Linked DNA regions of Homo sapiens: regions 1, 2 and 4 are each linked to region 3. The links are contacts of gene promoters, found by promoter capture Hi-C in blood cells and fetal thymus (Javierre and others, 2016). All regions are on one chromosome and are shown on one strand. The core of a region is centred on a gene start or on the middle of the fragment in contact, and the rest is flanking DNA. Distances in the headings are between cores, read along the strand shown. Region 1 overlaps LOC124904701 (hepatitis A virus cellular receptor 1-like). Region 2 has its middle 30 kb from the start of FXYD5. Region 3 holds the start of CD22 (CD22 molecule). Region 4 overlaps ATP4A (ATPase H+/K+ transporting subunit alpha).

The links. Contacts are between HindIII fragments. The CHiCAGO score rates a contact against its expected background, and 5 or more counts as called.
Region 1: a contact is called between a fragment that was not itself captured here and the fragment with the promoter of CD22 in region 3, in 1 of 17 cell types (total CD4 T cells). The highest score is 6.1, in total CD4 T cells.
Region 2: a contact is called between a fragment that was not itself captured here and the fragment with the promoter of CD22 in region 3, in 1 of 17 cell types (monocytes). The highest score is 7.9, in monocytes.
Region 4: a contact is called between a fragment that was not itself captured here and the fragment with the promoter of CD22 in region 3, in 1 of 17 cell types (M1 macrophages). The highest score is 6.8, in M1 macrophages.

The regions. Positions count from the first base shown.
Region 1 is chr19:35,096,139-35,099,518 of GRCh38, reverse strand. All of the region lies in intron 1 of LOC124904701 (hepatitis A virus cellular receptor 1-like), which reads right to left. It overlaps HPN-AS1 (HPN antisense RNA 1), which reads left to right. Exons shown (of 4, transcript NR_024562.1): 2 at 132-314. Among named protein-coding and RNA genes, the nearest start is that of HPN-AS1, 8.5 kb to the left of the region's middle. The HindIII fragment of the contact is 2,767 bases long and covers 369-3,135 here.
Region 2 is chr19:35,183,164-35,186,285 of GRCh38, reverse strand. No RefSeq gene overlaps it. Among named protein-coding and RNA genes, the nearest start is that of FXYD5, 30 kb to the right of the region's middle. The HindIII fragment of the contact is 8,299 bases long and covers 1-3,122 here.
Region 3 is chr19:35,327,042-35,330,436 of GRCh38, reverse strand. It overlaps CD22 (CD22 molecule), which reads right to left and starts at 1,250. Exons shown (of 14, transcript NM_001771.4): 1 at 1,207-1,250. RefSeq lists enhancers at 504-553, 624-673. The HindIII fragment of the contact is 19,927 bases long and covers 1-3,395 here.
Region 4 is chr19:35,554,130-35,557,696 of GRCh38, reverse strand. It overlaps ATP4A (ATPase H+/K+ transporting subunit alpha), which reads left to right. Exons shown (of 22, transcript NM_000704.3): 11 at 1-42; 12 at 609-784; 13 at 1,885-2,021; 14 at 2,107-2,257; 15 at 2,363-2,531; 16 at 2,621-2,775. Among named protein-coding and RNA genes, the nearest start is that of ATP4A, 7.7 kb to the left of the region's middle. The HindIII fragment of the contact is 254 bases long and covers 1,387-1,640 here.

The sequences.
Region 1 (3,380 bases), core at 503-3,002, 230 kb after region 3:
CACAACCCTGAAACCTTTGCTCCCTCAATTAGAGGGAGAAAAAAATCAGGGTGAGTGCAGGGGAGGGAAGGGCAGGAATGAACCACAGGACGATTCCCAAACTGCCACTGTTCTTTTTTTTTTTTTTCCAGACAGGGTCTTGCTCTGTTGCCCAGGCCAAGTGCAATGGCATGATCTCAGCTCACTGCAGCCTCCCGATTGTTCCGATGAAACTTTTAACCACGTGGTTTGTTATGCATGTCACACCCACAGGCCACTTCAAACTTGCAGCACACAGTGAGCAACTCGGACAATATAGGGTCCAGTGCTGGGAGGTGAGAGGTAGGATTAGGAAGGGCCCAAGAGGAGCCCTGGTCTGGCTTGAAGCTTGGGTTAACATCCTAGGCAGGGCTGGGGTCTCCCTGGGGATGAGGGCTTCCGATCCACCGGCGAAGGAGGCATCCTAGCTAGCCAAGTGGGGAGGCCATCGTTGGAGCTGGGGGCGGTGAAAGGGAAGGAGCACGTAACTGCATCCCAGGCTGGCTCGCCACGCGGGCAGGCAACGCGCAGCGCAGGGCGCAGAGTTGGACGTAGGCCTCCAGCATGGTGCACAGCATGCGGTTGCCCGTGCCATACTGGCAGAGGTCAGAGACACACACCTGCGTGTAGGACACGGGGCTCTCATACCAGTGGCACTTGGCCAAGGGCCCGGAGCGGTTTGCCAGAACACTGCAGAGCTGCTCCACCCGGGGCCTGTCCTGGCAGGGCTCAGCGCCACCAGGGTCCCGCCGGCAGCTGGGGGATCACAGGACTCAACACCACCACCTCCAAGCCTCCTCCTCCTCCTGCCTCCCCCCTGGCCACCCTTGGCTAGTCCTCCTCTGCCCGCACCAGGTTCTCCCTCCCAGCAGCTGACAGCTCCTGGTGCAGTTTTAGACACGTTTAAAAACCTCAACCCCATAGTAACAAATGATTTTCATACAGTTACTCAACATGAGGGAGTCATTAATTTTTTTTTTTTTTTCGAGACAGAGTCTCGCTCTGTCACCCTGACTGGAGTGCAGTGGCGCGATCGCAGCTCTTGGCAACCTCTGCCTCCCGGGTTCAAGCGATTCTCCTGCCTCAGCCTCTCAAGTAGCTGGGACTACAGGTACCCACGACCACAGCCGGCTAATCTTTGCATTTTTAGTAGAGACGGGGTTTTGCCATGTTGGCCAGGCTGGTCTTGAACTCCTGACCTCAGGTGATCTGCTCACCTTGGCCTCCCAAAGTGCTGGGATTACAGGTGTGAGCCACCACGCCCAGCCAGGATAGTTATTAGTTAGATCCTGGATTCTGGAACCAACTTTGTTAGCTTCAGATCCCAGCTCTGCTACTTGGACGAATCCCCAAGTCTGTGCCATCCAATACCGCAGGCACTAGCAACCAGAGGCTACCGAGTATTTGAAATATAGGTAGTGTGACAGAAGATGTTTAATTTAATTTACACATAAATTTAAATAGCACGTGTGTTTGGTGCATTGGACTTTGCAGGACTAAGGTCTCAGTGAAGGGAGACTGGCACGGTGACTCATGGCTGTAATTCCAACACTTTGGGAGGCCGAGGTGGGCAGACCACTTGAGGTCAGGAGTTCAAGACCAGCCTGGCCAACATGGTGAAACCTCATCTTTACTAAAAATATAAATATTAGCCGAGCATGGTGGCGTGTGCCTGTAATCTCGGCTACTCGAGAGGCTAAGGCATGAGAATCACTTGAACCTGGGAAGCGGAGGTTGCAGTGAGCCGAGATCGTGCCACCGCACTCCAGCCTGGGCGACGGAGCAGGAATCAAAAATAAATAAATAAATAAATAAATAAATAAGGTCTCTGTGAGGAGTGCTTCCTGTTTCCCCTGTGAGAGGTGGGGGGGTGGAGTATTTAGGATCAGGGACCCTGAAGCCAGAATGCCTGGACTCAAATCCCTGTTCCACCATTTTTTTCCCCTCTTTTTTGATAGGGTCTCGCTCTGTCACCCAGGATGCAGTGCAGTGGTGCCAGCATGGCTCATGGCAACCTCGAACTCCTGGACTCAAGAGATTCTCCTGCCGCAGCCTCCAAGTAGCTGAGAATACAGGTGTGCACCACCACCAGGCCTGGCTAATTTTTTTTTTTTTTTTTTTAATAAAGACGAGATCTTGCTATGTTGCCCAGACTGGTCTCAAACTCCTTAGCTCAAGTGATCCTCCTGCCTTGGCCTCCCAAAATGCTGGGATGACAGACAAGAACCACCATGCCCGGCCCGTTCCATCATTTCTTATTGTGGGAACTTGGGCAGATGCTTCGCCCTTCCATGCCTCAGTCTTCCCCATCCGTGAAAGGGTATAATCATTGTTCCTGATTCTACCTGAATCAATCTCCTGAGAGTTGTGTGTGCAATTCACACCCTCTTCTTCCACCTTTCTGTTCTCAAAGCCTGCCTGTCTGCCCACTGTTTTCCCTGAGCCCTGTATTTCTCCCAACCCGGGCCCTTCCTGGTCCCAGGCAGCCACCCACCCAGGCCGGCTGTCCTGGGTCCACCAGGCGTTGCCAAAGATGGCATCACTGAGGGTGGGCACCCTGCTGGGGAGCACCTTGTCATCACTGGGGTCGCCACTGAAGTTGCCACAGAGTCCGCAGAGGTGGCTCCAGAACTCAGGCCCCACGCACACCAACAGCATATTGTGGCCATTGAACTGTACCTGGAGCCAGGTGCCCACCTGCAGGAGCACCAGGCCCTGCTTACCGCCTGGCTGTCCACCTGCAGTGCAGGGGAAGAGCTCAGGATCCATTTCCCCCTACCATCTCCCACCCCCTAGTGCCATCCATACACTCCTCATGACCCCACAGCAGGTAAGGTGTATGAATCTCCAAGCCGAGCTGTCTGCTCCATGCCACCAAGGACCTCACACCTCACACTGCCAAGTTCACCTTAGCCCCTTCCCCTTCGTTTCCCTTCCCTTACTTTTCTCATCCACTTGCCTGGCTTTAAACCCCAGCTGTATTCTGACAATTCCCAAATGCCCTCACCAGTCCTAGAACTCCAGGTGTCTGCATCCTGCTGTGTCCCAGCTCTGGGAGAAAAGAGGCACCTCGAACTCCCCACGTTCAAATCTGAACTCCTAATCTTACCCCAAGCTTCCTCTCCTACCTTCTCCATCTCAGGCAGTGGCAGCTTGTCCAGGACGCGGAGGCCAAAAACCAAATCATGTTGGAACCTGCCCTCTCTCTCATCCCACAGCTGATCCTTTCAAAATATTTCCAGAATCTAACCATGTCTCACTCCCTCTACTGCCCTCTTCCTGATTCCAACCACTGCCACGTTCTGCCTGAACAATTCTGTCAGCCTCCTCTCCAGTCTACCTGCTCCCCCCAGGTCCTCGGC
Region 2 (3,122 bases), core at 34-2,533, 140 kb after region 3:
TGGCTGTACATATCTATGGATATACTAAAAACCATTGACTTGTACATGATTTTTAAAAATTTTTAATTGCTGTGGGTACATCATAGGTGTATTTATTTATGGAGAACATGAGATGTTTTGATACAGGCATGCAATGTGAAATAATCAGATCGGCTTGTATGCTTTAAATGTGTGAACTGTATGGCATGTGAATTGTATGGTAAGCGAATTCTATTACAAAAATTAAAAAATTAAAATAAGAAAAAAGAGTTGCCCTTTCCATGACAGGAACAGTTCAATGTGGCTGGGCGCAGTGGCTCACACCTGTAATCCCAACATTTTGGGAGGCTGCGATGGGTGGAACACCTGAGGTCAGCAGTTTGAGACCAGCCTGGCCAACATGATGAAACCCTGTCTTCACTAAAAATATGAAAATTAGCTGGGTGTGGTGATGGATGCCTATAATCCCAGCTACTCAGGAGGCTGAGGCAGGAGAATCTCTTGAACCTGGGAGGTGGAGGTTGCAATGAGCCGAGATTGTTCCATTGCACTCAAGCCTAGGTGACAAGAGCGAGACTCTGTCTCAAAAAAGAAAAGAAAATTAAAAAAGAGACAGTTCGACGTAATTAATTAGCCATCAGCAGACTGGTTGATTGTCCTGAGGAATGGTGCAATAAATCATTGCTAATTATAGTCATCCTACAGTGCTAAGGAATGCTGGAAGTTATTTTTCCTATCTAGCTGTAATTGTGTATCCATTTGCCAACATCTTCCTATCCCCTTCAACCCCTATCCAGCCTCTAGTAACCACTATTACATTCTCTACTTCTATGATATCAACTTTCTTAGCTTCCACATATGAATGAGAATATGTGGTATTTATCTTCCCATGCTTGGCTTAATTCACCTAACATAATGTCTTACAGGCTCATTAATGTTGCCACAAATGACAAGATTTCATTATTTTTACGGTGGAATAGTATTCCATTGTGTATCTGTACCACATTTTCTTTATCCATTCATCTCTTGAAAAACACTTACGTTGATTCCATATCTTGGCTATTGAGAATGGTGCTGCAAGTCTGCCAGACTCAGAACTTACCCACCTAGACAGATCAAGCAAGAGTTTAGTAGGCTCCCCCATCTATTTCATTTCGAGGCATACCATGATAAAGTAGTGAATGCCAAAGGTCTCTTTGAGTCACATTATTCTTATTACTATTTTGACTTCACTATCAACTATAGTAACCATGCTTACCTTATCTTTGGCATATAAGTACAGATATCTCTTTGACATACTCATTTCCTGTCCTCTGAATATATACCCTAGAGTGTATTGCTGGATCATAGATAGGATAGTTCTATTTTTAGGTGTTTTTAAGGAGCCTCCATACTGTTTTCCAGTATGATTGTACTAATTTACATTTCCACCAACAGTGTATAAGAGTTCCTTTTCCTCTGCATCCTTGCCAGCTTTTGTTATTTTTTCTCTTTGATAACAGCCATTCTAAGTGGAGTGAGATGATATCTTATTGTAGTATCAATTTGCATTTGCCAGATGATTAATGATGTTGAATATTTTTCATATATACTTGTTGGTCATTTGTATGTCTTCTTTTGAGAAATGCCTATTCAGATAATTTGCTGATTTACTACTCCTTGAGGATTTCTTGTAAGGCTACTTTAGTGGTAATAAATTCCCTCAGTTTTTGCTTGTCTGGGAAAGACTTTATGACTCCTTCATTTCTAAAGGATAGATTTGCTGTTACAGTATTCTTGGCTGCCAGGTTTTTTTCTTTCATCACTTAGAATATATCATCCCATTCGCTCCTGTAATATAAGGTTTCTGCTGAGAAGTCTTCTATTAGTCTAATGGGGATTCCCTTATATGTGACTTGATGCTTTTCTCTTGCTGTTTTTCAAATTCCCTCATGGTCTTCAACTTTTGACAGTTTGACCAGAATGTGCTACAGAGAGGACCTTTTTGGGTTGAATCTATTTGGGGACTTTTGAGCATCCTGAATCTGGATGTCCATACCTTTCCCGAGACTTTGGAAGTTCTCAGCTATTACTTTATTACATAGGATTTCTGTGTCTTTTCTCATCTCTTTTCCTTTTGGAAATTGGAATATCTGTTTGCTTAACAATGTCCCATAGGTCTTGTAGGCTTCCTTCATTCTTTTTTATTTTATTTTTTGTCTGATTGAGTTATTTCAAAAGAGACCTGTCTTCAAGTTTAGAAATTCTTTCTTCTGCTTGACCTAGTTTGTTGTTGAAGCTCTCAATTATATTTTAAATTTCATTTATTGGCCGGGATCGGTGGCTCACGCCTGTAATTCTAGCACTTTGGGAGGCTGAGGTGGGCAGATCACCAGGTCAGGAGTTCGAGACCAGCCTGGCCAACATGGCGAAACCCCGTCTCTACTAAAAATACAAAAATTAGCTGGGCATGGTGGCAGGGGCCTGTAATCCCAGCTACTCAGTAGGTTGGGGCAGAAGAATTGCTTGAACCTGGGAGGCAGAGGTTGCAGTGAGCCAAGATCATGCCATTGCACTCCAGCCTGGGTGACAAGAGCAAGACTCTGTTTCAAAAAAAAAAAAAAAAAAATCATTTATTAAGTCTTCAGCTCCAAAATTTATGTGTTTTTTTTTATGATATCCATCTCTTTACTGATTTTTTTTCATTCTGATCATGAACTGTTTTCCTGATTTTTTTGGGCGGGGGATGTTGTCTCACTCTGTTGCCCAGGCTGGAGTACGGTGGCACGACCTTGGCTCACTGCAACCTCCGCCTCCAGGGTTCAAACGATTCTTCTGCCTCAGCCTCCCAAGTAGCTGGGACTATAGGCATGCACCATCATGCCTGGCTAGTTTTTGTATTTTTAGTAGAGACATGGTTTTGCCATGTTGGCCAGGATGCTCTCAAATTCCTGACTTCAGGTGATCCACCCACCTCGGCCTCCCGAAGTGCTGGGATTACAGGCGTGAGCCACCGCGCCCAGCCCTGTTTTCCTGATTTTGTTGAATTGTCTATTTGTATTCTCTTGTATCCCATCAAATTTCCTTATGATCACTTGAATTCTTTTTTGGGAATTGCACAGATGTTCTTTTCTTTGGGGTCTATTATTGGAGGATTATTGTGT
Region 3 (3,395 bases), core at 1-2,500:
GGTACTCATCATGTCACATGCAAAAAACATCTTCAAGGTCACATACACTTGAGAAAGGCAGGGTAAAAGAGTTAAGTAAGATTCTTTTTTTTTCTTTTGAGACAGAGTCTCATTCTTCTGTCGCCCAGGCTGAAGTGCAGTGGTGTGATCTCAGTTCACTGCATCCTCTGCCTCCAGGGTTCAAGTGATTCTCCTGCCTCAGCCTCCTGAGTAGCTGGGACTATAGGCATGTGCCACCACACCCGTCTGATTTGTTTGTTTGTTTGTTTGTTTTAGTAGAGATGGGGTTTCACCATGTTGGCCAGGCTGGTTTCAAACTCCTGACCTCAGGTGATCCCCCCAACTTGGCCTCCCAAAGTGCTGAGATGACAGGCGTGAGCCACCGCACCTGGCTTAAGTAAGATTCTTTACTGCAGGACTTTAAAAACCTTTCAGTAAACTCTATCTACACCATTAATCTCTAGACATGGGGATTAGAGTATAGTATAATACATTGTCCATACTTCTTTGGCCATGGGATCTATTTTACATGTTCCATAAAAAACTTAGCAGGGTTGCAGAGCCAGAGTTCTTTGAAATCCCCTTAAGGTTACCTAAGGGGTAACAAGGGCTGTGGCAAGGACTAGACTCCGTTCCCTGCAGCCAACACTTGCCTCCAGGAGCCGGGCCATTGTCCCTCCTCTGCCAGCACCCTCCAGCCACAACCTGCTCTGGGACGGGCTGGAGCATCCCAGCATGAGTGGGAGATGGGCGCCTCCAGAGCAGGACTGTGTGCTGCCTCAAGGAGCTCCAGGAGTCTCTGGAGCACAGGAGTAGGGCCCCAGGCCCGGGAATTGGAAGGCTGAGGGTGGGGTGGAGGTTAGGGACAGCAGTTATTATGCACAGAGGCTCAGGACAGGGCCATGCTGTCCAGACCTCCTCAGTCCAGGCCTGTTGAGGGCCTTGCAGAACCTTGGGGCTGACCTCCCTGGCTCCTTCTTCCCTCCTGGGCATCCAATAACCTACCCTACTCTCAGAAGACTCAGCAGGCCTGGCAAGGAGGATGCTCAAGACAGGGGTCTGTCTACAACCTGTTGTAACACCGGTAAGAGAGAGCCAGGGAGGTCCCCACTGTGTTCCCAGCTCTGGGAGGTATGCCTGGCCCATAACTGCTGTTCCGTAATAACTTGCTTGTTGAATGCAAAATAAAAGCAAAATGATTTTTACCTGTTTCCGCGTGTCTTCCCTCTTCAGGGACCCTGGCAGCATCTGAGAGCAAAAGGAGAAGTACAGTAAAGTCTCTGGTGACAGAGGTTTCCCCTCCATGGCCACACCCCCTGCTTCTCTATGGCTCTGAGGGGGACCAAGCAGCACCGTGATCTGGGGAGTGGGGAAAAGAGACGATTGAGGGGGATGCGGGCTCGGAGTCAGATTGGAAGACTCGAATACGTATGGGCAGTTCTTCCTTTCCGTGTATGGGTTTGCAATATCAGATCAGTTTCAGAATGGGCTCCTCCACAACTCCCCCTCTACCCAGCTCTCAGGAAATGCGAATGACTCAAGCCAAGCAGGAGAACTGCAGCCCGCTGAAAAAGGCACAGGCCTACCTGAAAGTATTTGTAGTTTAGTGACACCATCCAGTTATTACCATTTCCACTCTTTTCATCATAGGCATAAATGGTGGGGAATCTGACCACCTACACTGAAGCCCCCAAGGGTTGAGGGAGGAGCACATAGATATTGAGGAGGAAAAAGATATCTCGGCCGGGTGCGGTGGCTCATGCCTGGAATCCCAACACTTTGGGAGGCTGAGGCGGGTGGATCACTTGAGGTCAGGAATTCGAGACCAGCCTGGCGAACATGGTGAAATTCCGTCTCTACTAAAAATACAAAAAATTAGCTAAGTGTTTTGGCAGGCGCCTGTAGTCCCAGCTACTCAGGGGGCTGAGGCAGGAGAATCACTTGAGCCCAGGAGGCGGAGGCTGCAGTGAGAAGAGATCACACCACTGCAGTCCAGCCTGGGTGACAGAGTGAGACTCTGTCTCAAAAAAAAAAAAAGAAAGAAAGAAAGAAAGAAAGAAAAAGAAAAGATATCTTGTAGGACTGGGCATGGTGGCTCATGCCTGTAATCCTAGCGCTTTGGGTGGCCAAGGCGGGTGGATTGCCTGAGCTCAGGAGTTCAAGACCAGCTTGGGCAACATGGTAAAACCCCATCTCTACTAAAAAAAAAAAAAAAAAAAATCCAAAAATTAGCTGGGTGTGGTGGCGGGCGCCTGTGGTCCCAGCTACTCAGGAGGCTAAGGCAGGAGAATCACTTAAGCCCGAGAGGCTGAGGTTGCAGTGAGCAGATCGCGCTGTGGCACTCCAGCCTGGGTGACAGAGCCAGATCCTGTCTCAAAAAAACAAAAAAGATATCTTGTAGGAAGTGTTATTGAATGGAGAGTCTTTAGGCTGAAACCTCATCACCTTTATAATCCTGTAGCCAGCGAGTGTCTCAGGAGCAGAACAGACAGCATTGGAAGCCATGCACATCCTACAGATGAAGAGGGATGCGCTGAGAGGTCTTCACTCCAGCACCACTGCCCTCTATGGGCAGCTGGCCATAGGGAGGGAAACAGAGAGAGGGAAGAACACCTTCTTCCAAAAGCACCGATAGGGCTGGGTGTGGTGACTTATGCCTGTAATACGCTTTGGGAGAGCAAGGCAAGAGGATTGCTTAAGGCCAGAAGTTTGAGACCAACCTGAACAACACAGCAAAACTCTGTGGGGCTAGTCAACAAAAGCAAAAAATGAAAAGTAGCTGGGCATGGTGGCCCATGCCTGTGGTCCAAACTACTTGGGAGGCTGAGGCAGGAGGATCGCTTGAGCCTGGGAGTTCAAGGCTTCAGTCAGCCATGATAGCACCACTGCACTCCAGCCCAGGCAACAAAGTAAGACCTTGTCTCAGTAAATAATAAATAAATAAAATGAACAAAAAGCAGTGATGTTCTGGAAAGATGGAGTAGATGTATTTATTTATTCTGCCAAGTATAACTGAAAACCTTGAACGTGACAAGACAAGCATAAGAAGACTGAAAGATGGAGAGAAGCAGACTGGTTAGGAACCTCGGGACTTAAGGAATGGTGGTGAATTCCCTGGGATTTCTCTTTGCCTCATATATCTCAGGCTGAATACTGGAGAAGCCAACAACTGAAAATGCCAAGGGGCACAAACAAGAAAAAGTCCCAACAGAACAAGTTCTAGCAAAACTATGCTTTTCTAGCCAAAGAACGAGGAAAGGGGCATCCTAGAAAGACAGAGCTCTTTTAGTCCATACCTGCTCCGCTCCATCCAAGTTCCATCATCACCCTTGTCAGCAAAGGCCGGATGGAAAACCTAGACATTCACCTTCACCAGGCTGTAACAAAGAACCCTA
Region 4 (3,567 bases), core at 264-2,763, 230 kb before region 3:
CCGCCTACCTCAGCCTGGGAGGCCTGGGCGAACGCGTGCTCGGTGAGACCCCTGGGCAGGGGAGGAGACTCCAGGTGCGAGGAGGAGCTAGCACAGACCCTGCCCACCACTCCCGGCCCAGCCCTGACCGTCCTCATCCCTGGCTGCTGGCTGATTTGTCGCAGTCCACAGCCTCACCCTTGACTTTCCCTGTACCAGTCCTGACCCCTGTCTGTCCTCACTTTCTACCTTGACCCCAGTCCTCACCTGGACTTTTATCCGTATCCTGACCTCTAACCTCTCCCAATTTTTGTCCTGACGCCTTAAACTTCGCTGCCTCTACCCTAGAAAGCAGATCTGTGGTCCAATTCTGGGCCTTTTACTTGCTGTGTGACCTCTGGCAAGAAATGTCCCCTCTCTGAGCCTCAGTTTCCTCATCTGTAAGATGAGAATGGGCCTCACAGGGTGGTTGTGAGGGTAGATTCAGATAATGTGAGTGAAGGGGTCAGCACAAGGTCAGGCATCCATAGGTGTTTGGTGCAAGGGGCCTGGTTATTTTACCCATTTCCTGGCCCTGCTAAGAAAGGGTGTGCCCAGGGCTCTTCCCTGACTTCCCCGTTTCCGGTCAGGCTTCTGCCAGCTCTACCTGAATGAGAAGGACTACCCGCCTGGCTATGCCTTCGACGTAGAGGCCATGAACTTTCCATCTAGCGGCCTCTGCTTTGCGGGACTTGTATCCATGATTGACCCACCCCGGGCCACCGTCCCTGATGCTGTGCTCAAGTGTCGCACCGCAGGCATCCGGGTATGCCACTGTGGGGAGGAACAAGTGGAGTGAGGACAGAGGATGGCAGCAGGATTTGGGTTGAAGAACCCCATGACAAACCCACCTGAAACTGGCTTGAACCAAAATGCATTGGTTTATGATACTGAAAAATTCTGGGGAATTAAGCTTCAGGTCTAGCCAGATCCAGGAGCTCAGTGTCATTAGGAATTTTCCTTTCTCCATGTCTCAGCTCTGCTGTTCTCTTTGCTGGCTTTATTTGCAGGCACTCCCTTCACTTGGGGACACACACACCCCTGCTCCAGCAGCTCAAACTTAACTCCCACCTGCTTAGCCACCCCACAAAAAGAGAGTGCCTCTTTTGCAGTAGCACTGGATTGGGTCACTCATTTATCCCTGAGCCAGTCACTGGGGCTGGGGGATGGAAGACCTTGATTGGCCAGGTCTGGGCTTACTTACCCAATCTTAGCCAGGGACCTCACTGCAACTGATGGTGTAGGGGAGAGGAGTGGTTCCCCAAACACAAAACAAGGGTGGGAAAGCCAAGGCCAGGCAGGCAATGCCCAAGCCCTTCCCGTGTCTCTACGGCCCTGTTACATCGGGCCTTGTTACCTTTCTAAGCTTGTTCGTTAGCCCTCTTTCCTTGTTCACTCCTCTGCAGTTATGGTGTCCTCCCTGCTGTTCCTCCGACAGTTCGGGCCTGTCCTCACCTCAGGGCCTTTGCACCTGCTGTTCTCCCTGCCAGGAGCACTCTTCTCCCAGCTTTCCACGTGGCTGACTCTCTCACCTCTTACAGGTCTCTGCTCAGATATCACCTTCTCAATAAGCCCTTCCCTGGGTACACTTAAAATCGAGTCACCGTTTCCTTCACCAAGCTTAATATGTTTTTTTCCACTTTCTAACACACTATATAATTCGTTTCTTTATTTTCTGTCACCCTCACTAGAGCTCCTCAAGGACAGGGATTTTTGTCTCTTTTGTCTCTGCTATATCCCAGGCACGTAGGAGGTGGTCACGCTTGGTCAAGTAAATGAACACGTGTATCAGCAGATGTCTCCCAGGGAGGACAGGGAGATTGGGCTGATCTGAAGGGGTCAGTGATCCACTGGTTCCCCCTACAGGTGATCATGGTAACGGGTGACCACCCCATCACCGCCAAGGCCATTGCAGCCAGTGTGGGCATCATCTCGGAAGGCAGCGAGACAGTGGAGGACATCGCTGCCCGCCTCCGTGTGCCCGTAGACCAGGTTAATCGCAAGTAAGCCCCCCCAGACCTCCCCGGGGTTCTCCCCACATCTGGCACAGACCGAGGTCCCAGCGAGGTCCTCCCATCTCCTCCCCAGGGATGCCCGTGCCTGTGTGATCAATGGCATGCAGCTGAAGGACATGGACCCATCGGAACTGGTCGAGGCCCTGCGCACCCACCCCGAGATGGTGTTTGCGCGCACCAGCCCCCAGCAGAAGCTGGTGATCGTGGAGAGCTGCCAGCGGCTGGTGAGCCCTGCTGATGAGGGTGGGCAGGCGGGCAGACAGGCGGGGCTGGTCTTGGACCGGCCTCTCACTGACCACCCACCCACCACCTGCACCCACTGCCTGCAGGGTGCGATTGTGGCCGTCACGGGGGATGGTGTGAATGACTCCCCAGCTCTGAAGAAGGCAGACATCGGAGTAGCCATGGGCATCGCTGGCTCAGATGCTGCCAAAAATGCAGCTGACATGATCCTGCTGGATGACAACTTTGCCTCCATTGTGACAGGCGTGGAGCAGGGTCCGAGCCACGCCAGGGGGAGGGCAGGCAGTGTGGGCACAGGAGGGAGAGGGCTGTGAGGAGGCTGAGGTGCCCACCCTACCCCACAGGTCGACTGATCTTCGACAACCTGAAGAAGTCTATTGCCTACACATTGACCAAGAACATCCCAGAGCTGACACCCTACCTCATCTACATCACCGTCAGCGTGCCCCTGCCCCTCGGGTGCATCACCATCCTCTTCATCGAACTCTGCACTGACATTGTAAGTCCACAGCCCAGGGTACCCATCCACAGGGTGCCCAGAGACACTTGCTTGCAGATGGACAGGAGGGACAGAGACCACCACAGACACTCTTGGGCACAGAGTGACAGACAAGACCTGTGTGTGCAATGACAGCCAGTGCAGGACACATGGGTGGCAGGCAGGTGAACAGACCTAAATGGACATACAGCCATGCACACACAGGCGGACACTCAGGTAGGCCCGGGCCGACCCATGCACACACATGACTCAGATACAGATACTCAGACAGAGATGGAAACAGAACAGGTATCTGGCCAAACTTGAATCACAGACACGTGCCCCTAAACAGACACGGACAAATAAACCCCCTCAGATAGACCCCATGGCAGACAGACAGAAAAGAACCACAGATACAGTCACGAATGCAGCCAGAGGCGCAGCTGTGTTGACAGGTATTTATTCGGTAACATTTACACAGTGCTTTCTCTGGGCCAGACACACCATCATTTCCTTAATTTTGTACTCATAACCACACTATGAGATGAGTTTTGTTACTATCACCCGTACTTTACTGATGAGCTCATCAAGGCATAGACAGGTAGAGTGGATTGTCCCAGGTCACTGGGCAAATAAGTGGCCCGGCTGTGACTTGAGCTTGAGCAGTCACAGGTCCCACAGCCTGTGGTCGTGGTCAGTATGCTCTGCTGCCACTCTAGGCACAAGCAGATGAAGGGGCACGGCGACACTGAGAGACTGAAGATACACAGAGATAGGGAGTGACACAGAAATACACAAGAGCAGATACAGTCA